Regions from separate parts of the Homo sapiens genome. Here regions 1, 3, 4 and 5 are each linked to region 2. Evidence: promoter capture Hi-C in 16 types of primary human blood cells and fetal thymus (Javierre and others, 2016). All regions are on one chromosome and are shown on one strand. The core of a region is centred on a gene start or on the middle of the fragment in contact, and the rest is flanking DNA. Distances in the headings are between cores, read along the strand shown.

Evidence for each region. The method cuts DNA at HindIII sites, captures the fragments that hold promoters and counts their contacts. A CHiCAGO score of 5 or more calls a contact.
Region 1: a fragment that was not itself captured here is called in contact with the fragment with the promoter of FZD1 in region 2 in 1 of 17 cell types (erythroblasts); the score reaches 5.4 in erythroblasts.
Region 3: a contact is called between a fragment that was not itself captured here and the fragment with the promoter of FZD1 in region 2, in 1 of 17 cell types (endothelial precursors). The highest score is 6.7, in endothelial precursors.
Region 4: a contact is called between the fragment with the promoter of CDK14 here and the fragment with the promoter of FZD1 in region 2, in 1 of 17 cell types (monocytes). The highest score is 5.8, in monocytes.
Region 5: a fragment that was not itself captured here is called in contact with the fragment with the promoter of FZD1 in region 2 in 1 of 17 cell types (M2 macrophages); the score reaches 5.1 in M2 macrophages.

Annotation. Positions count from the first base shown.
Region 1 is chr7:91,866,664-91,870,244 of GRCh38, forward strand. No RefSeq gene overlaps it. Among named protein-coding and RNA genes, the nearest start is that of MTERF1, 12 kb to the right of the region's middle. The HindIII fragment of the contact is 1,726 bases long and covers 590-2,315 here.
Region 2 is chr7:91,262,391-91,266,136 of GRCh38, forward strand. FZD1 (frizzled class receptor 1) reads left to right here and starts at 2,043. Exons shown (of 1, transcript NM_003505.2): 1 at 2,043-3,746. The coding sequence starts at 2,491. RefSeq lists an enhancer at 1,828-2,007 and silencers at 2,128-2,637, 2,728-2,787. The HindIII fragment of the contact is 4,268 bases long and covers 321-3,746 here.
Region 3 is chr7:91,785,652-91,789,560 of GRCh38, forward strand. No RefSeq gene overlaps it. Among named protein-coding and RNA genes, the nearest start is that of MTERF1, 93 kb to the right of the region's middle. The HindIII fragment of the contact is 2,546 bases long and covers 790-3,335 here.
Region 4 is chr7:90,594,641-90,598,607 of GRCh38, forward strand. It overlaps CDK14 (cyclin dependent kinase 14), which reads left to right and starts at 1,681. Exons shown (of 15, transcript NM_001287135.2): 1 at 1,681-2,078. The coding sequence starts at 1,988. RefSeq lists silencers at 1,289-1,488, 1,509-1,818, 2,009-2,208, 2,269-2,318. The HindIII fragment of the contact is 4,165 bases long and covers 926-3,967 here.
Region 5 is chr7:91,847,685-91,851,294 of GRCh38, forward strand. No RefSeq gene overlaps it. Among named protein-coding and RNA genes, the nearest start is that of MTERF1, 31 kb to the right of the region's middle. The HindIII fragment of the contact is 5,788 bases long and covers 1-3,610 here.

The DNA of each region.
Region 1 (3,581 bases), core at 203-2,702, 600 kb after region 2:
ATGAAAAAAGCACCCTAATGTAATTTCAGAACTAAGACAATGAAAAATGAAAAAGTGGTACTTGAAAAAGAAAGAAAGAGAGAGAGAGAGGAAGGAAGGAAGGAAGGAAGGAAGGAAGGAAGGAAGAAAGGAAGGAAGGAAGGAAGGGAGAGAGAAAAGAAAAAGAATAACCATTAAAAGAAAACAGTTTCAGACATTAAACTAACAGGGAAATATATATATGCAAAAGTATCTGTTTATTTTCTTACAGCTTAAGGCTGACAACCTACAGAAAAAATGGCACAGTGCCGACCTCTTTTGGCATTTAAAGGACGCTTAATTTAGTTTGGATTATCAGCCAGATTTAGAGCTAATTGGCTTTAGAAACTGTACAGCAAAACCTCTATCTAGTTCCCCCTACAGTTCATGAAGTTCTACACACAAGTAAACACAGATTAAGACCTAATTTTAATCTTTTTAATCAGTTATATATAATTTATATACTTGTTATCACAAAGTTAAACTTTAATTCTGTGAATAATTTATCACATTCAGCTAAAACAGTAAGCTATAGCCAGCTGTATTGTACTTATATGAATTGCAAACATAAAGCTTCATTCAGAAGGGCTTCTGAAGTAGCTGTGCAGGTCAGAGAGAGAAATTCAAACATACAGAGTGGGATAATGCTGATCTAACTGCACTAATTTTGTCATAGACACTTTAGTTGATATTTAGGGTACAACATGACAATCAGTTCTCCCTAACTGCAGTAAAGCAAAAAAAAAAAAAAAAAAAAAAAAAAAAAAGATTGCCTCTAACTTGGGTGGTTGCAGCCTACTTTCCTTGGAAAAGGAGGCTATATGTAGCTGTATGACAGCGTAAACCCAATCCATTAACTAATTAAATAAACCAGTGCTTAACAGGGCATGGGACTTCATAAGAGCCTTTGTTTTCTTGTGACGAAAAGGTCAAAATCTAGGTTTTTTTTTTTTCTTCTTTAAGAGATGGTGGCTTCCTATGTTGCCCAGGATGGACTCAAACTCCTGGGCTCAAGGAATCCTCTCATCTCAGGCTCCCGAGTAGCTAGGAATACAGACACGAGCCACCATGTCTAGCTGGAAGTTAGACTTTATCTGCATTCCTGGAATAGTAAAAGCAAAGCACGGGTCAGCTGCTTTCGGTAAATTCTAGCCCATAGGTCCAAGTCAAGTTCCAGGAAGCCCCCTATGAAAAAGATTCTGATATTAGTACCAGTGTTTAGTTCATGTCATGGCCTGACTTAAGTATAGGTCATTAAGTGTAATGCCAAGGCAGGGGCTTGAGTGGTTTGGAGCTCATGACTGTTCCACTTGGAATTTATCCTGGTGTATGAATACGAATCTATCAATATTTTTTTTCAGGTGGCTTCCCAGTTCTCCCAACACTTTTACTGAAAAGATACTGTCTAACTATTTATGTCAATATAGAAACATAAAGTCAAATATATTTGTTTAGTAGACTTGAAGAGAGCCTAGAAACACACTCAGAGACATGTAAACAGCATCAGACGAAGATGGCATTTCAAATCAGAGTTGAATGGATTTTTCAGCTTTGCTGAGGTATAACTGAAGTGTACTAAACTGCACATATTTAAAACATATAATTTGATACATTTTGACTCACAAAACAATCACCACAATCAAGATGATGAATATATAGATCACTCCCAAAAGTTTCCCTGTAGTCTTTTGCAGTCCTTTCTTCATGGCCTTCTTCATCCATCCACCCCATCTCGGTAACCAATGATCTGCTTTCTGTCACCACAAATTAGTGAGCACTGTCTAGAATTTTATGTAAACTGAATAATAAAGATTTTACTCTTTCGCTTCTTTCATTCAGCATATTTTGAGATTTGCTCATGTAGTTGCATGTATCAATATTTCATTATTTCATATTGGTGAGTAATATTCCACTGCCTGAATATATCACAATGTACTTTTCAATTCCATGTTGTTCCAATGTCCATTGGGTTACTTCCAGTTTTTGGTTATTCCAAGTAAAGCTGTTTGAACAAGTACAATTATTTGAATAGACATAAAGCATGGCAATGTTAATTTCAATGTAGAATTCAAACCAAAATGTATTAACTACAATAAGAGAGAGCTTTATATTGCTGTCTACCAAAAAGATACAGGTCAATAGCTTTCATATAAGCCTTTACAACAACTTTCCATTGTTGTAAAAGATCTATTCTGAACAAAACACCAGGCCCAGATAATTTCAAAGTTGTGCCAAACTTTAAAGAAATGATCATTTCCAGTTTTCAAACAGTTTCAAAACATAGGGAAAAAATAGTAAGCTTCCAAATTATCTTGAGGCTAGCACAGCCCCGATCCAAAAACCTGACAAAGTGGCAACCTCCTTCCCCTATTAAAAAAAAAAAAAAAAAAAAAAAAAATCTATGTACCAAAACTTTCATAATAAAAGGTAGGAAGGATCTGTAGACCAATCTCCCTTGTGAATACTAATGAAAATCTAAGTAAAATATTAGTAAATTGAATAGGGCATAGGTTTTAAGTAAAAACAAAAAGTGATATGCAGAAATCCACTGATGTCATTCATTAAATGATTAAGAGATTACTTTTAAAGGATTTTTTTTCAAAAACCATCTTTCATCCCTGATTTAAATAAATAAACCCCTTTGTGAACTAAGAATAAAAGGATATCTCTTCAACCTCATGATAAATAGGTTAGCTGAGACTTTGTTTCTTTGTATTGTTCAAAGACTTTTACAATGATTATTACCACAGAATAAATTCATTTCCAAGGTAAACTTTTAAAAGAAAGAGAATTATGGTGGGCAGAATTTGAAGGTACCTTGAGAGCTGGTGAAAGTGGCACTGGGATATTCAAAATGGAAATGAAAGAATTAGCATATCATCATACTAAAATTGTTCATAATTAACATAAAGCAATTCATGTACAAAAGTTCATTAATCTTCACATAATATTTCTATTAAGGACAAATAAATCCCAAATACTGATCAGAAAAATAGTGAAACTGAGACAGAAAATGAAATTCCATCAGTGTATCTTCTATTTCTTCCCAAAATCTAATAATAATACAGTCCTGCTATTCTAGCTCGCTTGTGCCAAACTTTTCCTGAACTGTATAACAATGGACTATTACCAAAGTTTGTGGCTAGGGTTCTGCCATCAACAGTTCTCTACTGGATCTCCACTAGATGGTAGCAAGTAAGGAGGCATTACAGACTAACAAGGAAGGAGCCAGTAGTCAGGGTTTTGTTTTGTTTTTTTACAGGAAAGCTATATTGTTGGATCTTTAGCCATAGACCATGTACCTACCCAGCCTTAGAAATTATTTAAGGGGAGAAATTACTAGTTTAATAACCCAATAAACCCATCTATAAATATTCACTTTTTAAATTCCTTCCTGCTAAATTCATCTGGAAGAAACTCATTTTTTTTCTTTTTAATCTGTGATATTATCCAAATTCTTGCAGTTATTTGAAAGTGCTCAAATTTATGGCAATAATTTAGAATGGTTTCCATTAAAAATGAAGTTTTACAGATCCATCTGACATTTGGAGAACGGCAAAATG
Region 2 (3,746 bases), core at 793-3,292:
TCATAAATTACAGTCAACACACGTACACATGCTCACATAATTGTGCATTTAGTACCTGTTGCTTTAAAAAAATGCTAGCAATCAAATACTTTAAAGCAAAAATGCATTTTATGAAGGTACTGCTTATATAAACATTTGAAAAACAATAACATATGTATCTGAGACAAACAGATGTCATTTTGCTTTAGCAGGTAAAGATATGACTGCACCTTCTTTATAGACACCAACATGCTGGGTAGTGAAATTCTCAGAGACTTGTTAGCATGTAGTACAAGTAACACCCATCTAAGTAGTAACCTTTATGTGTAGATGAATGTTAAAGCTTCCTAATGACAGCCTGCCTCAGGTGCCCTCTTTCAGTCACCCTGGAATCACTCCCTGCTTATGTGGGGAAAGTGACCTTCAATAGTTTTCTATTTTCTGTATAATTTGGCCCAAACGTTTTAGTCTGGATTAAAACCTTTTCTCCTGCCTCCCCTCAAAGTGCCTCAGCTACACTCACCTCTCTGGCCCCCTTCAGCAATTCAAGTGAATTTGAGCTTTAATCTTTTGCACCTTGCACCTACCTCTCCGTCAGAACCCCATTTCATCTGAGCTGGTTGCTTTCTATGTGCCTTTTTGGCTTTGGGATGGACACTGTAACAAGTGATTTGCATTTCTGTGCCTCACTGTACTATGCCCCTCTCTAAGGCTGGCACAGGTCTCCTTCATTTTATACTCTACGACCTAAGAGTGCTTATAGCACAATGGGTGGTTGGTATCTATTAAACAAATGAATGTGTAAATGAATGATAGAAAGTAATTGGTGAAAAGTACGCTGAGATAGAGTCTGATCACAGGCAAAAAAAAAAAAAAAATGGAAGAATTAATAGTCCAATGGCACTTTTCTTATAAAACTGAATTACATAGTCAAACCATCATTTAAAATAATCTTACAAGGAAAACAACATTAATGTGCGTCTGTTGAGACGGATTATGCTGTTTTGGAATTAGGAAGAGAATGTGCAGTTCGCTGTTTGCTTTCAGACTGTTTGTTTGTTTTGTTTATTAAACTGGCGTCTCCAGCTCTGCAGCCCAGCCTGTGGAACCTAAATGGCCCAGGTCCCAGGAGTTCCCATCGGAGCCGTGGGCGTCCCCAGGGTTTAGAAAGGCTCCCCAGGGGCCCAAGCTGCCGGCGAGTGCAGCTCCCGCCGGCGCCACCTCTGCGGTCTGGAGCGGCGAGGACGATCCCAGAGAGGCGCCCCCACTGCCTCGGTCGTCGGGTTCTTAAGTTTTTCTCTCCAAAAATTTAATGGATAGTTTTCTTTTGCTTCTGTTTCTGACTTGATTAAAGAGGCGGAAAAAAAGGAGTTTGACTCCAAGAAGAATGATAGTAGCAGAAGGCGCATCTGGCTTTACTTTCCAAATTCCATCAAAGTTTGTGTTTTGTTTCATTTGACAGCGATCCCGTGAACGTCTCCTCTGGGGAAATGGCGCGACCAAAGCCCGCCAAGCCCAGCCTGCGAACTGGAGGATTTATTAATGTAATATGTTAAACAAAACCTCGACAGACACAAACTCAAAGGAAACCGTGCGCTCCTTAAGTCAAAGGCATCTGTTCTGGAAGCAGAACCCGGTTTGCTGTTGGTAACCAGCGTTAAGAGCAGGATTTTTAAACATGATAATGGATAAAATAAAAGAAAAGCGAAGTCCCGCGGTCCTCTGACTCCTATTCATTATCTCCAGCAGCATATGGGACCATTCTCCTACGTATCCTCGCCTTTTTCTTCTGAAAAAGCAAAAGCAACCAAGCCTGTCCCGCTTCAGAGCAATCCTACTCTTTGTGCCTGAGTAGTGCCACCACCACTACTTCCTCCTCCTCCCGCCTCCTCCTACCCCGCCCTCCTGCCGCTGGCTTTCGCTCTGGCGAGGAGGCGGCCGGCTCCCTTTGCGCCGGGAAGCCGGAGCCGCGATTGGGCGACGGTCCCTGAGCCTCCAGTTCTGCGTCGGTTTCAAGGCTCCTCCCTCCTGGTGAAAGACAGACTACGGGGCGCCTGGAAACCGGTCCGAGGGCGCGCGAGGCAGAGGAGAGGGAGCGAGTTGAGGGATTGACACAAATGGTCAGGCGGCGGCGGCGGAGAAGGAGGCGGAGGCGCAGGGGGGAGCCGAGCCCGCTGGGCTGCGGAGAGTTGCGCTCTCTACGGGGCCGCGGCCACTAGCGCGGCGCCGCCAGCCGGGAGCCAGCGAGCCGAGGGCCAGGAAGGCGGGACACGACCCCGGCGCGCCCTAGCCACCCGGGTTCTCCCCGCCGCCCGCGCTTCATGAATCGCAAGTTTCCGCGGCGGCGGCGGCTGCGGTACGCAGAACAGGAGCCGGGGGAGCGGGCCGAAAGCGGCTTGGGCTCGACGGAGGGCACCCGCGCAGAGGTCTCCCTGGCCGCAGGGGGAGCCGCCGCCGGCCGTGCCCCTGGCAGCCCCAGCGGAGCGGCGCCAAGAGAGGAGCCGAGAAAGTATGGCTGAGGAGGAGGCGCCTAAGAAGTCCCGGGCCGCCGGCGGTGGCGCGAGCTGGGAACTTTGTGCCGGGGCGCTCTCGGCCCGGCTGGCGGAGGAGGGCAGCGGGGACGCCGGTGGCCGCCGCCGCCCGCCAGTTGACCCCCGGCGATTGGCGCGCCAGCTGCTGCTGCTGCTTTGGCTGCTGGAGGCTCCGCTGCTGCTGGGGGTCCGGGCCCAGGCGGCGGGCCAGGGGCCAGGCCAGGGGCCCGGGCCGGGGCAGCAACCGCCGCCGCCGCCTCAGCAGCAACAGAGCGGGCAGCAGTACAACGGCGAGCGGGGCATCTCCGTCCCGGACCACGGCTATTGCCAGCCCATCTCCATCCCGCTGTGCACGGACATCGCGTACAACCAGACCATCATGCCCAACCTGCTGGGCCACACGAACCAGGAGGACGCGGGCCTGGAGGTGCACCAGTTCTACCCTCTAGTGAAAGTGCAGTGTTCCGCTGAGCTCAAGTTCTTCCTGTGCTCCATGTACGCGCCCGTGTGCACCGTGCTAGAGCAGGCGCTGCCGCCCTGCCGCTCCCTGTGCGAGCGCGCGCGCCAGGGCTGCGAGGCGCTCATGAACAAGTTCGGCTTCCAGTGGCCAGACACGCTCAAGTGTGAGAAGTTCCCGGTGCACGGCGCCGGCGAGCTGTGCGTGGGCCAGAACACGTCCGACAAGGGCACCCCGACGCCCTCGCTGCTTCCAGAGTTCTGGACCAGCAACCCTCAGCACGGCGGCGGAGGGCACCGTGGCGGCTTCCCGGGGGGCGCCGGCGCGTCGGAGCGAGGCAAGTTCTCCTGCCCGCGCGCCCTCAAGGTGCCCTCCTACCTCAACTACCACTTCCTGGGGGAGAAGGACTGCGGCGCACCTTGTGAGCCGACCAAGGTGTATGGGCTCATGTACTTCGGGCCCGAGGAGCTGCGCTTCTCGCGCACCTGGATTGGCATTTGGTCAGTGCTGTGCTGCGCCTCCACGCTCTTCACGGTGCTTACGTACCTGGTGGACATGCGGCGCTTCAGCTACCCGGAGCGGCCCATCATCTTCTTGTCCGGCTGTTACACGGCCGTGGCCGTGGCCTACATCGCCGGCTTCCTCCTGGAAGACCGAGTGGTGTGTAATGACAAGTTCGCCGAGGACGGGGCACGCACTGTGGCGCAGGGCACCAAGAAGGAGGGCTGCACCATCCTCTTCATGATGCTCTACTTCTTCAGCATGGCCAGCTCCATCTG
Region 3 (3,909 bases), core at 813-3,312, 520 kb after region 2:
TCCTTCTCCCTTCTCCAGTAATGATAACTGCAGTTAAAACTCTCAAGTGACTTTTTAACCAAAATGTTTAGTGCTCAACTGTTGAACCCTTATTATATATGTAGGTTATTCTATCTTAGCAGTAAACTTGAGGGGAATGTTATAGGAACATTATAGAAACAAATTAACTTGTAAACATGAATATAAAATTATTGCAAAACTCAGGAAATCAAATGTAAAATGTTAATATCAGAAGAAACTGGGTGACGGGCATATGGGAACTCTGTAGTATCTTGGCAACTTTTCCATATATATAAAATTATTTCAAAGCAAAAGCTTGATTAAAAAAAAAAAGTTCAGGGAATCAGAACCAGAGTCACAGGTATTAATTTGTCTTCTCTCCAACAGCTTTGCCAGATTGAGGTTTCTTTTCCTCTTTTGCACATTTATTTATGTATTCTATACACTCGGGCCCCCTTACATCAGTAAGGAATTGGAGCTGTCATCTTACTCCATAGGAGAAAGGCCAGCCTGGTGGCTCCTTGTTTGAAGTTCCCTGCTCAAATGCCAATGTAGATAGGGGCATGATTGCTCTGTGAGCTTAGCCAGGTCACTTCCCTCTCTGCACTTTGTTTTCATCTTATGCCTAAAGGGACAGATAATACTTACCTCCCACCTCTACTTGAAAAGGAAGGAAGGCTAAAAAGTTAATCTGAACATATTTTTATAAAGGAAAAACATTTTTAAGTTCCAGTTTTGTACATAATACAGAATATTAATATCTACTGTTTTTGTCAGCCTTAGATAGTAAGCTTCTTGAAGCAGATCCTGCTCTTTGATTCACAATAGATACTCTTGAGTCGCTTCACAAATAATGATGCCAATTCTTAACTCTTAAGTTTTCATCCTGAAATTTCAGATTAATTTAGAGTAGCTTTTGCAGCCACCCATGAGTACATTGGTGTTAATGATGCACCCATTTTCCTTTCCTCAATGTTTGCTTTACTTCTAATAGAGCACAAGAGCCTAAAAATCTACCTTTAGAACATTATTTACATCCTGAGAAAGGACTTGTGCCCAGAATCACATGATAACACATAGACCTTGACTCAAGGGCCAACTTGTACTCTCCCATTTGGCTGCCATTTCACTCCTGACGCTGTCTCTGTTTAACCTTTTGGCCCCTCAAGAGAAGTAGCAGAAGCCACTGAATGAGGAATGGGGGTTCTCAGAAGTCACTGAGATTAAAGGGGTCCACCCTGCAGGAACAGCATTTCTCTCTTCCTAGGCAGTTTTTGCTGCTCCTGTCAGGTGGTAAGAAGAGGAGAGAGGTTTTTATTATTATTATTATTAATCCCAAACTGTCAACTTCAAAGGAGGAATTTAGAAGTTTCACAATTAGAAAAAATACATAATGTAATGGTTGCTGGTGATGTACACAGCCTATGTTAAGGAGAGAGACAGAGCCTAAAGATTCTTACCCCAGTGGAGCGCCACTCGGACTTATGCATGAGGAAATCTATTTACCATATGTTAGCTTCATGCTCTCCTCTTTCTTCTAAGGAAAAATTTGCTTTTCTGAGGACATGACGGACTTTTCTTTCCTACAGGCCTAGATAATATATTACTTAGCCTTGAGAAACTGAGAAATCCCCCACTGTGTCACCTTCTAGAGCCCCTGTCAACCCTTTGCAACTCCAAGAGACAAGTCACTCCTACTTTCCAGAAAACATTCAGAAGCAAGCACCAGCCCTTCCCCAGAGGTCAAGCAGCAGAAAGGGCCTTCCACTGCAGGTGTGAGAGAAAATCTGAGCTCACTCCTTTATCGCCTTGCTTAGGGCTGGCTGTACAATCTCCTCATCAAAAAACATAGTGAGAACAATCAGCATATGGAAGGACCCAAATATAATCAGGATGTGAGGATCTGACAAAGTTCAAATACATTACAATTTAGAGCTGCTATGTCTAGTACGTTAACCACCAGCCACATGCAGCTACTTAAATTTAAATTTAAATAAATTAGAAACTTAGTTCTCCAGTCACACTAGCCAACAGTAGCTGTTGTATTGCACAGCCCAGATATAGAGCATTTCCATCATTGCAGAAATCTGTACTGGAAAGACTGATATAGCTAACACAGGAAAATACATTTTAATTCTTCAAATCCTACTATGTCATCTTTTATTCCTTTTAGTAAACATTTGTTGAACAACTACTTCCTGCAAGTCACTGGACAAGGTGCGGTAGAGCATAGAAAGATGAGTATGACTGTAAGTGGCCCTCAGGACCTTTGAGATTTAGAAATCTAAGATAAGTAACTATCTATAAGATAGAAATACATACCGTAGAGAAAGAACAACCAAATTGTTGTGCTTAAACAAGTAGAAATGTATGCAACCATTTCACACTGAGCTTCAGCAGTCCCAGAATTCCAAGATAACAAGTACTGTCCTGACTGAGAAGCTGCACATTTCCATGCTGTCGGTTCCATGGAAACAGCATTTGGATGTGTTCCATCAAAACTGCTTTGAAAAATGGTCCAAAGCAGAATTTACTTTTGTGAGAAAAAAATACAAAAAACATAAGAGGCACCACATGCTAATGGAAGTAGCACAAGATTTGGAGTCAGAAGATCTGTTTGAGAGCCAGCCTTATCCTTGCTACCTGTGTGATGCTGGGTAAGCCACTTAACTTCTCTGGGCCTCAGGATTCTCATTTTCAAAGTGGGAAAAATAATCCCTACCCCATATGCCCCATAAGGGAACACTGTAAAAATAATTAAGATACTGAAAGCACCTCAGAAGCAGTAGGATGCTATATTATTATTACCACAGAAAGTGACATGAAACTTTGGAGGACATATAAATCCATAACTGCAAGCAAGTAAATTTTAAAGGCATGTGGAAGGTTCAAGTTCTACACAGTGAATATAATCAAATTCTCAATCTGGGGATTTTTCTTAGATTTAAGAGCACAAACATATACTCCCTGAGCACCTTTATCTCTTCTACAGGGACCACAGCCAGGCCAAGTTCACTCCATCTTCATCCCAGAGGATAATTTGCCTCATGCCAGCATGAAGGACACCATAGCATCAAGGATGAACTTACTCTGAATGACAAATAATTAAAACTTCCTGGCTAGAACAAGTCAACCACTGAATGGGAAAATTGTATATTTTTGTTGTTGTTGTTTGCTTGTTTTGTTTTGTTTGGATATGGACAATAGAATGGATCAGTAGGATCATTGCTATCCTGTACAAATGGGAGGAAAGAAGGTCTTGGAACAATTGCTAGATATGTGTTCTGTTGATTTCATGAATAATTACAATAAGAATTTCACACTTTGTAATCACAAGCTTTTGAGTCTGTCCGTGAAAATGCTAAATGCTTCTGTAAACGTAAAATGATACCACTTTTACTTTCCTGCAACTCCCAGCAATAACATGGGATGATTTCTGTTTCAGCAGAGTGTGTGACCAGAATTGGGGTTTTTTCCAGATGTGCATAGAATGGTTTCAATTACCTAGTGCCATGCCTTAATTTTTGAGCATCCCCTTGAACCTATTGGGTTTGGCAGTTCCAGCAAAAGCATGGAACTGTGGAAGGGGCTGTCCAGCCATTCAAGCTATGGTTTCACCATACTCACCATGTACTGGCAAGAACTAGCGTGTAATAGAATAGAAATGCTTATGTTGGGATGCAAGGCACCGAATAGCATAAATTCTAAACAAGGAGGTCTAAGGTTAAAATAATAAACTTTAAATGATGTATGCCACATGTGACATTTTGGTTCCAGATGTAACAAAACCAAACCAAAGTCTTTTGCTAGACAATTCTAAAACAATATTACTCTCCTAGGTTTCTGATTCTGATTTTGCCCAGTTGCTCACAGATTACACTCTGGCAAACTTGGAGACAACACAATACT
Region 4 (3,967 bases), core at 431-2,930, 670 kb before region 2:
TTAATATTTCTTCGTGTTTGTTGACTCGTACAACCCATTAGTGTTTTGATTGGTTGCATTTGTCTTTTCATTCATAACTGCTGAAAACTTTCTCCCTAACTAACCTGAGGAAGTGGTAAAAGTCAAACTTTTTTCCGGTATGAGGCCACCCTTGGTGCTGTCTGTAATTATCTAGACATGGCAGCCAGGATCCAACAGCTTTGCGTTTTAACTCATATGGTCTTTCCTGGCGAATTCCTTGCCCCCCTCTGCTCCCCACTTAGCTTGACTTCCTGTCTTTTATCATCCGCAATCTATCAAGATCCTACAATGTGCTCAGTGTAGGGCGGAACAAATCACTGTTTTACCTCACAATTTAAGGAAGGCAGGGGGCTAGTTTTTAAGATAAAAATCTTTTAACAAAACATAAACTCCCCAAAATTTCCTACAAGCCAAACAGCATTGTCACACCCTCACAAGCTCTTATTACTTACACAGCCAAATGACTCAAGATTACTAACGTTTCTATTCATAAGGAGTTTGCTGGCCTCAGATCAACACAATCAAGCCCTCCCCCACCTTCCTTCTCTCTCCCCTGGGAGACTGACGTTTGGAACTCACGCCGCACCAGGTTTTTTCAGAATGAAGACGATGTGTGTTCGCTGCTGGAACTGTTTGTCCTGGGATTTTATAAACACCTCCCCCACTCCTTTTTAAAGTTCTGTTTTTGAGGTGGGGGAAAAGGAGGTCGGAATCTGTTTAGCCTTTAAATCTCCCAATTCAGAAATATATTCTAAGAATTTAATAGAAAAAGACCAAGGGCTGTGTCTGCTATTTACTGCAGAACTGGGTATTCCTATCAGAAATCACCTACATGTGTCACCAAGATCAGAGACAAGGATGAGGGAAACAGCATGATCCCTGCCTTCTGGAGGGTTACAGTTGAAGCTTCCGCTGCTTCTGCACTTGACCTCAAAACAAACAAAAAACCCACCGCAAACAACAACAAAAAAATCCAGGCCCACCTTTCCCCTTGGATCTTTCACTTGACAGCTTTCTCGGCCCAAAATAAGGCACCCTACATCTGAATGCATCCCTAAGGCCTTACCGCACCCAGTCCAGGAGGCAGTCCTGGCAGCTGCCCTCCACCGAACTCCGCGCTTTTTCACACACGCTCGTGGAAGGAGAAAACCGCTCAAACAACTGGACTCGGCCCGTTTCCTTTCGGTAACCTCCCCACAGCCCAACACGCTGTCCCCAGACGCTGCCCGCTCCCACCCCGGTCCCTTCGTGATCCTCCCGCGCGCGGGCGGGGCGGGGGAGGAGCGCGGGGGCGGCCGGGAGGGGCGCGGCCGGGAGGGGGCGCCGCCGGGGCGCGAGCCAGACACAGAGGGCCGCGGAGGACGCGGGAGGCGAGCGGGGAGCCGAGGTCGTGCTAGGATCCCGCGCCCAGGGGCCTTCGTCGAGGGAGGGGCGTGGCGGCGGCAGCAGGAGGGCAGCAGGAGCTGTCAGGCTGGCGGTTCCGCGCCGCGGCTCCTTCTGCGCTGCGCCCGCAACTCTGGGCTGAGAACTTCTCCCGCCGGCCCACTCGCCCTCGCCCCGCGCACTCGGCGCCAGGCGACTCCCGCACCTTGTACCCGGCCCGCCCCGCCTCCTCCTTCGGCCGCACCACTCCCCCTGCCGGCCGCGCTTCTCTCCGTTACAAAGGAGGGAAAATGAGCCGGGCGGCGGCGGCGCGGCGCGGGGCCACCACGGCGGCGGCGAGCGCGGCCGCCCCCGGCACCACGTAAACCGCCCCCGCCCGCCCAGCTGCGGCCCAGGCCGGAGCGGAGCCTGCCGTCCTCCGCCTGCCTGCTGCTCGCCTCCCTAGACCTGCGCGTCGCTTCCCGGCCCGCCGAGGAGGTGGTGGAGGAGGAGGCGCCGCTTTCCCCGCGGCGCGCGCCCTCGCCGTTGTCTGAGCTGTGCCTGGACCAGTTTGGGGAAGTTGTCGGGGCTCCGCGTCGCCCAGATGTGTGACCTCATTGAGCCGCAGCCGGCCGAGAAGATCGGCAAGATGAAGAAGTTGCGGAGAACTTTGTCGGAGAGTTTCAGTCGCATTGGTGAGTAGCGCGCTGCCCCCGGCCCCCCCAGCGCCCGCTCCCCTCGGCCTGCGCCCCCGCCGCGTTCCTGGCACCAGCCATGCAGCTGCCAGCGGGGCTGGCGTGGGGTGCGTTGTAGGCGGGGATCGAGGGCACAGTGCTAGGGACCCGGGGGAGGGCAAGGACGTAAAGGAAAGAGACCCCTCTTCCTCAGGATCTGGGGGTTCATTTGTAGATTCTCTCAAGCCTACAATATGGGTTCTCCCCTCCTCCGCCACTAGTGCTCGCCCTTTCGCGCGCGTGGGGGACGGGCGAGGGGACCCCTCGGCCCCCACCGCGCAAGGGGCTGCGCGGCTGCTTGGGCCACTTGTTATTTTTTGCGCACAGGCTTGGATATTGGGCGTTTAGTCAGTAATTTAGCTTTGGAAATTGGTGAAACGTTAGACTGTGCCCTGGTATTGTTTAACGTATCCAACCTAAAGGGAAGTGGGACAGTTACCTTGGGACCTATTGTTCGGTACTTCGGGTCCTGGAAAGCGAGATTTGGGTGTTCAGTCTCGAGGTCTCTGAATCTTCCCGCTGCTGGAGAGAAATGCGCGCTGTGGAGTTGTCTGGACATTTAGGAATGTCTCTCGAACTTGTTCCATTTAATAGAGCTCAGGGGCTGTTGTCTTTAAACCAAACAACAAACCAACTGACCAACAGTGTTTAGGACAGTGACGAATAAATGCATGTCACAGGTTGTAATAGGGTGACAGCAGTATCACGTGGAATGGGTTTGTTAGATTTTGAGTACTGGGCATAGAAAACCCCTTTTAACCTGAAGAGTTAGCTGCCTCCCCTACTGTCACAACTTTCACTAATAACATGTAACTGCCCTGAGCAAGAGAATGCTATAGACACAAAAGATAACCCCTGCGAGTCCCTAGGAAGCTGCCTAGTCTTTGTTTCACTTGTTTTAAATGTCATCCATGTTAACGAAAGTGTTAATGGAAATTAAACATAAAGGTACTTAATTCCTTAAAATAAAACCCTGGGATGCACATGAGTGTTACAGATATCCTTCCACCCATTCATTGTAAGATATGCAAACTTTCTTCAAGTGAGAGAGTACAATGGATCGAAATTTAGCCAAGTTTTTTTTTTTTTTTTTGTCTTTCGACTTAAAATTTTGTGTTGGTATGCAAAATCTTTCCCCAGATGACTGTAAAGTTATGGTATGAAACCAATCTTTAGTTTTATTTATTGCATGTATTGGATATTAATTTCACTCTTCAGAATTAGGGATACATGTGGAGAGTCCCTGCATTAAGATGAAGTTTGAAGCCAAGAAGAGTGTGAGAGAGGGAAATGTTGAGTCGTGTGCATTATTAACGAGGATGTTTCAACCCTGACCCAAACCGTCGCAGAGGCGGGTTCTGGAGTCCATTAAGCCGTGTTCTAAAACACATTAACTATATATTTACTAATGCTAATGATTCTGCTGGAGCCCCTCCAGTTTTGTGTTAAATAATTCATTGCAATTGAGTCTCAGTAAGAAACCAAGGACATTAATCTAAAAGTTCCTTATATTTAAATAATTTCAAGGTTTTGATCGACAATCAGTAAAATTTGGATTAAGTACAGTGCTGGCAAATGGGGGTATTATAGTTAATTGGATTTTCTAGCTTACTGAGATTTAGTGATGTGAAACTCCTTTTGAATCCAACTCTTGTTAAAATGTCTTCTAAGAGCTGGTGGATTTTATATCCTCCCTTTAGGACACAGAATGCAGTGCAGTGAGCACAGCTGATTATTTCTTGTATTGATGGAAAATATGATTCTGAATCGTAGATCTCATTATGGAGTATTGTAATAGGAGATATTGAAGTGATTATAGTTGTATACCAAGCCAACGACATTCAAAGTAG
Region 5 (3,610 bases), core at 799-3,298, 590 kb after region 2:
AATGGCAACCAATAAAAAATAAAATCCCCATTTTGATTTACTTTTTACTTTTCACACCCCTTATCACACTGAGCAATTTTTTGATCCAAAATAAGACTGAAACTTCTGCCTTCACACAAAAGTAAACACAGATGGTCCGATAATAGTAGCGAACTTTACACAAACTGCCCCATTTGAAGCAGGCCTATTTAATGCCACATTTCATTAAATATGACCTATCTTAAATCGGACAGGCTCTCCTGCAAGGAGCCAATCTTTATCTTTATTTAAACTCAGTGTGGCCTGTCACTATAAAAGACTTTGCCTTCTTTGAACAAGGGTAGACATTAAAGCTAAAGAACAGGGTGGGCCTCCTTACCCCAGCCAGGCCAATCCAATTTACAAACAGATTGTATTCAAAGGCTCTTTTGTCAGTCTATTGTAGGATTTTAAAAGCATTTTACCACAGAAACAATGTTATACCCACTGGTTAGGTTCTTAAGAAAGGTCATTTAAAAGGTTAAAAGCCTATTTAACCCAACATATAGTTGTGCTGATATTTTAATAGGAATAAAACGCACCTGTGTTAAGTAATACTATGGAATGATGTATAATAATGTCTCTGAGGAAATTCATTAAGAATTCTGACCTTTTATGCCTGTGACACAACTTCTGGTAACATCATCCTCACTTCCCTCTTGCAGACCTCCCCTGCTACTGGGCAACAGGAGTTCAACTTCCTTGTCCTAAATATAAACCACCAGTATTGGCCACTATCATCTGGAGCCAGGGCTCCAGCATAGTGGAAGATTTATGTAAGGGCGTATGAAGACAGAGACTGGGTCTGAGGGGTGAAAGTATGGGATGGGGTCTAGGAAGTTAGGAATCGACAAAAGTCTTCTGCCAGGGTACACCTCAGGCCTCACTCCTTGGTCTAGCCTGTACACCATCATTCTTTTCTTCCAGCAGCCCTGGGATTGTTCTGATTCCCCTCCAACTGCTACCACCTGTTGCTTCCACCAAGGTTTCACTCTTCCTCCTGGTCTACTGCATCACAGAACAGCAGTCTTGGCTTTTCTCCTTTGTTCCCACGTATCCTTTTGAAGTTTCCTAAAGATTGTTACAGCTGCTAACAAAGGAGGTCAAGAGATAAAAGTGTTTTTCCAAATTTGCCTTCCACATCTTTTCTTTTTTAATTGAGACTAAGTTGAGAAAAAAGCACACTTGGATAACAATCGGTTTGGTGGGGGTGGGGGACAAAAAAAGGTATAAATTTGTTTTACAACATTTAAGAGCAAGACAGCTCACATTAAATGGATATGTTCTACTCAGAAAAAAAAAAAATCTGGCTCTGCCCTCACCAGCCAGAAGTATCAAGATATTCCAATTCACTTTTGGGTGACTGCCTTCTCCTCTTCAATGCCCCCCACCAGCATGGGGAAGCAGGATGGTGCCCTGAAAACAAAGTAAATCTCTTATGATCCTTAGGCCATCATGATCACACATGAGATGTTAATTGCCTCAGTCCACCAGTCCATTCAAAGAAGGACCACACCATTCTTCTGTGCCAGGGATCTTTTAAGCCAGCTTCCATGACAGTTATAAATGTTTGCTGTCCACAGTATCAACATGAACCACCTCAACTCTCCATCCAAAGACTTATTAAAAGGCAAGGGGACAGGTTGCAACCATTCATTAAGCTATCACCCAGATTAGTACTCCCCCCAAATCTCTGAAAGCTATTTCCATTCCTGCCAGTTCTGTTTCCTCTGCCCTCCCAGAAAACCCCTCACCTTCATGCTCCCATTGCCTCCCTCCCTCAACATCTCTAATCCCAAAACAATAACATGGGTGATGGGGTTTTATTCCAGAGACCAAGAAACTTCCATTTTCATCCATGTTATTTTTCAGGTCTGCCATATAAAGGCAGTTTATAATACCTTGAAGCTAGGAATCCCAGAATCAGAACATAACAGCTCCTGGGGATAATGGAAACAACAACAAAATGTCAATAAATTATCCTGACAAATACATTTTAGAGGAATGCTCAGTCTCAGGTTTATCCAGTTATTCCATGATAGGTCTGCTGTGAAGACCAAGCCAGGACCTTAGATATGGGTACTGAGTAAATGGCATAGAGGATGAAGATGCTACCAAAGAGACCTGCATACTGGGCCTGAGAGAACCCCACCAATAGCAGGGGATGTTTACTCTCCCCTTCCCTTTTCAGTATTCTTTTCTCTCTGCTTTATGATCTTGTGATTCATTCATTTGCAATATATAATCTCTAAAGCCAACATTTATAACAGGCTTACCATATACCAGGCGGTATGACAAATAAATGATTAGTGTGATTATTTTAATTCTCACAACTCAGTAAAATAGTTTATTATTACAACTTACAGATAAGGAAACTGACAACCTTAAAAAAGTATTATATACATTTAAAGCTACAAAGAACTTATAGCTAAAAAGAGAATATAAGACTTCCTAATTATCAGAACAAAAGAACAAAACATAACAAAAATCAAAGAAAATACACCATATGGTGAAATTTTTAAAAATCAATAAACACAGAAAATATAACCTAAAATATGATGTTAATACTGAGGCAAAAAATATCTGTCATATAACTAAATGTATATGGGATAAACTCTATTTAAATAAAAGAGTTCCAGTTTTCAATAAAGGTGGTCTAGGATTTGGTGGCCTCACTCAGAAAGTTGAACTTTGCTTATTTTGAGGGTGCTCATCCCCATGGAGCATTTAATGATTCTGAAAGGGGCAGCTGAGAGGCTAAGCAGGGCTTTTGATAGCACTAGGTGAGGGACAGACTAAACTACAGATCCTGAAGGAAAAGGAGGACTCATAAATACTCTTCATTTTGGCTTCAGACCAAGGAGATACCTAGAAGGAAAGGTAAAGCAGAAGTAGGCAGACCTACACAGTGTTAAATTGTTTCAGTCCCTGAAATTGGAATGAGGTGAGTCACAGATTGCTAAGGCCCAAAGGTATTTGGCAGAAAACATAAATCTTCTATGGAAGAAGTTAGTATCATTCCATGTCTCAAATGTTTTCTAAACCTTGGCAAATATGATGTCAGGTACACAATAAAAAATAACCAGGCACATGAAGAAACAAGACAGTTTGAATGCAAGCCAGAACAACTGAAAATACAAATTTAAAAAAGGCTCCAGATATTGAAGTTATCATGTATGGACTTTAAAATAAGTATTTTTGATAGATATATAGATACATGGAAAGATATATGATATAGGAGGTATAATAAAATGTAAGGAGTGGAATATAGACGACAGGTAGATGTTAACTGTAAAATTCTTTCAACTTTTATATGTTTAAAATTTTTAAGAATAAAATTTTGGAAAAATAATATATTGAAAGGCTTAGCTTCCTGGTAGCTACAGGAGGGGAAATAACAGAAGCACAACCACCTACATGTGGTCAGGATGACTGTGATTCTACAAGATAGAAAATAGCCCACCTGCTCAGAAGTAAGCCTTTCCTGTCTTAGTGGTCTAAGGAGAATTTAAGCATGGATTCTCACAAAGGGAGCATCAGTTTTTTGTTGCTTTTTTTTTTTCAAGATGGCTAACTAGGGATGTCAGATGCC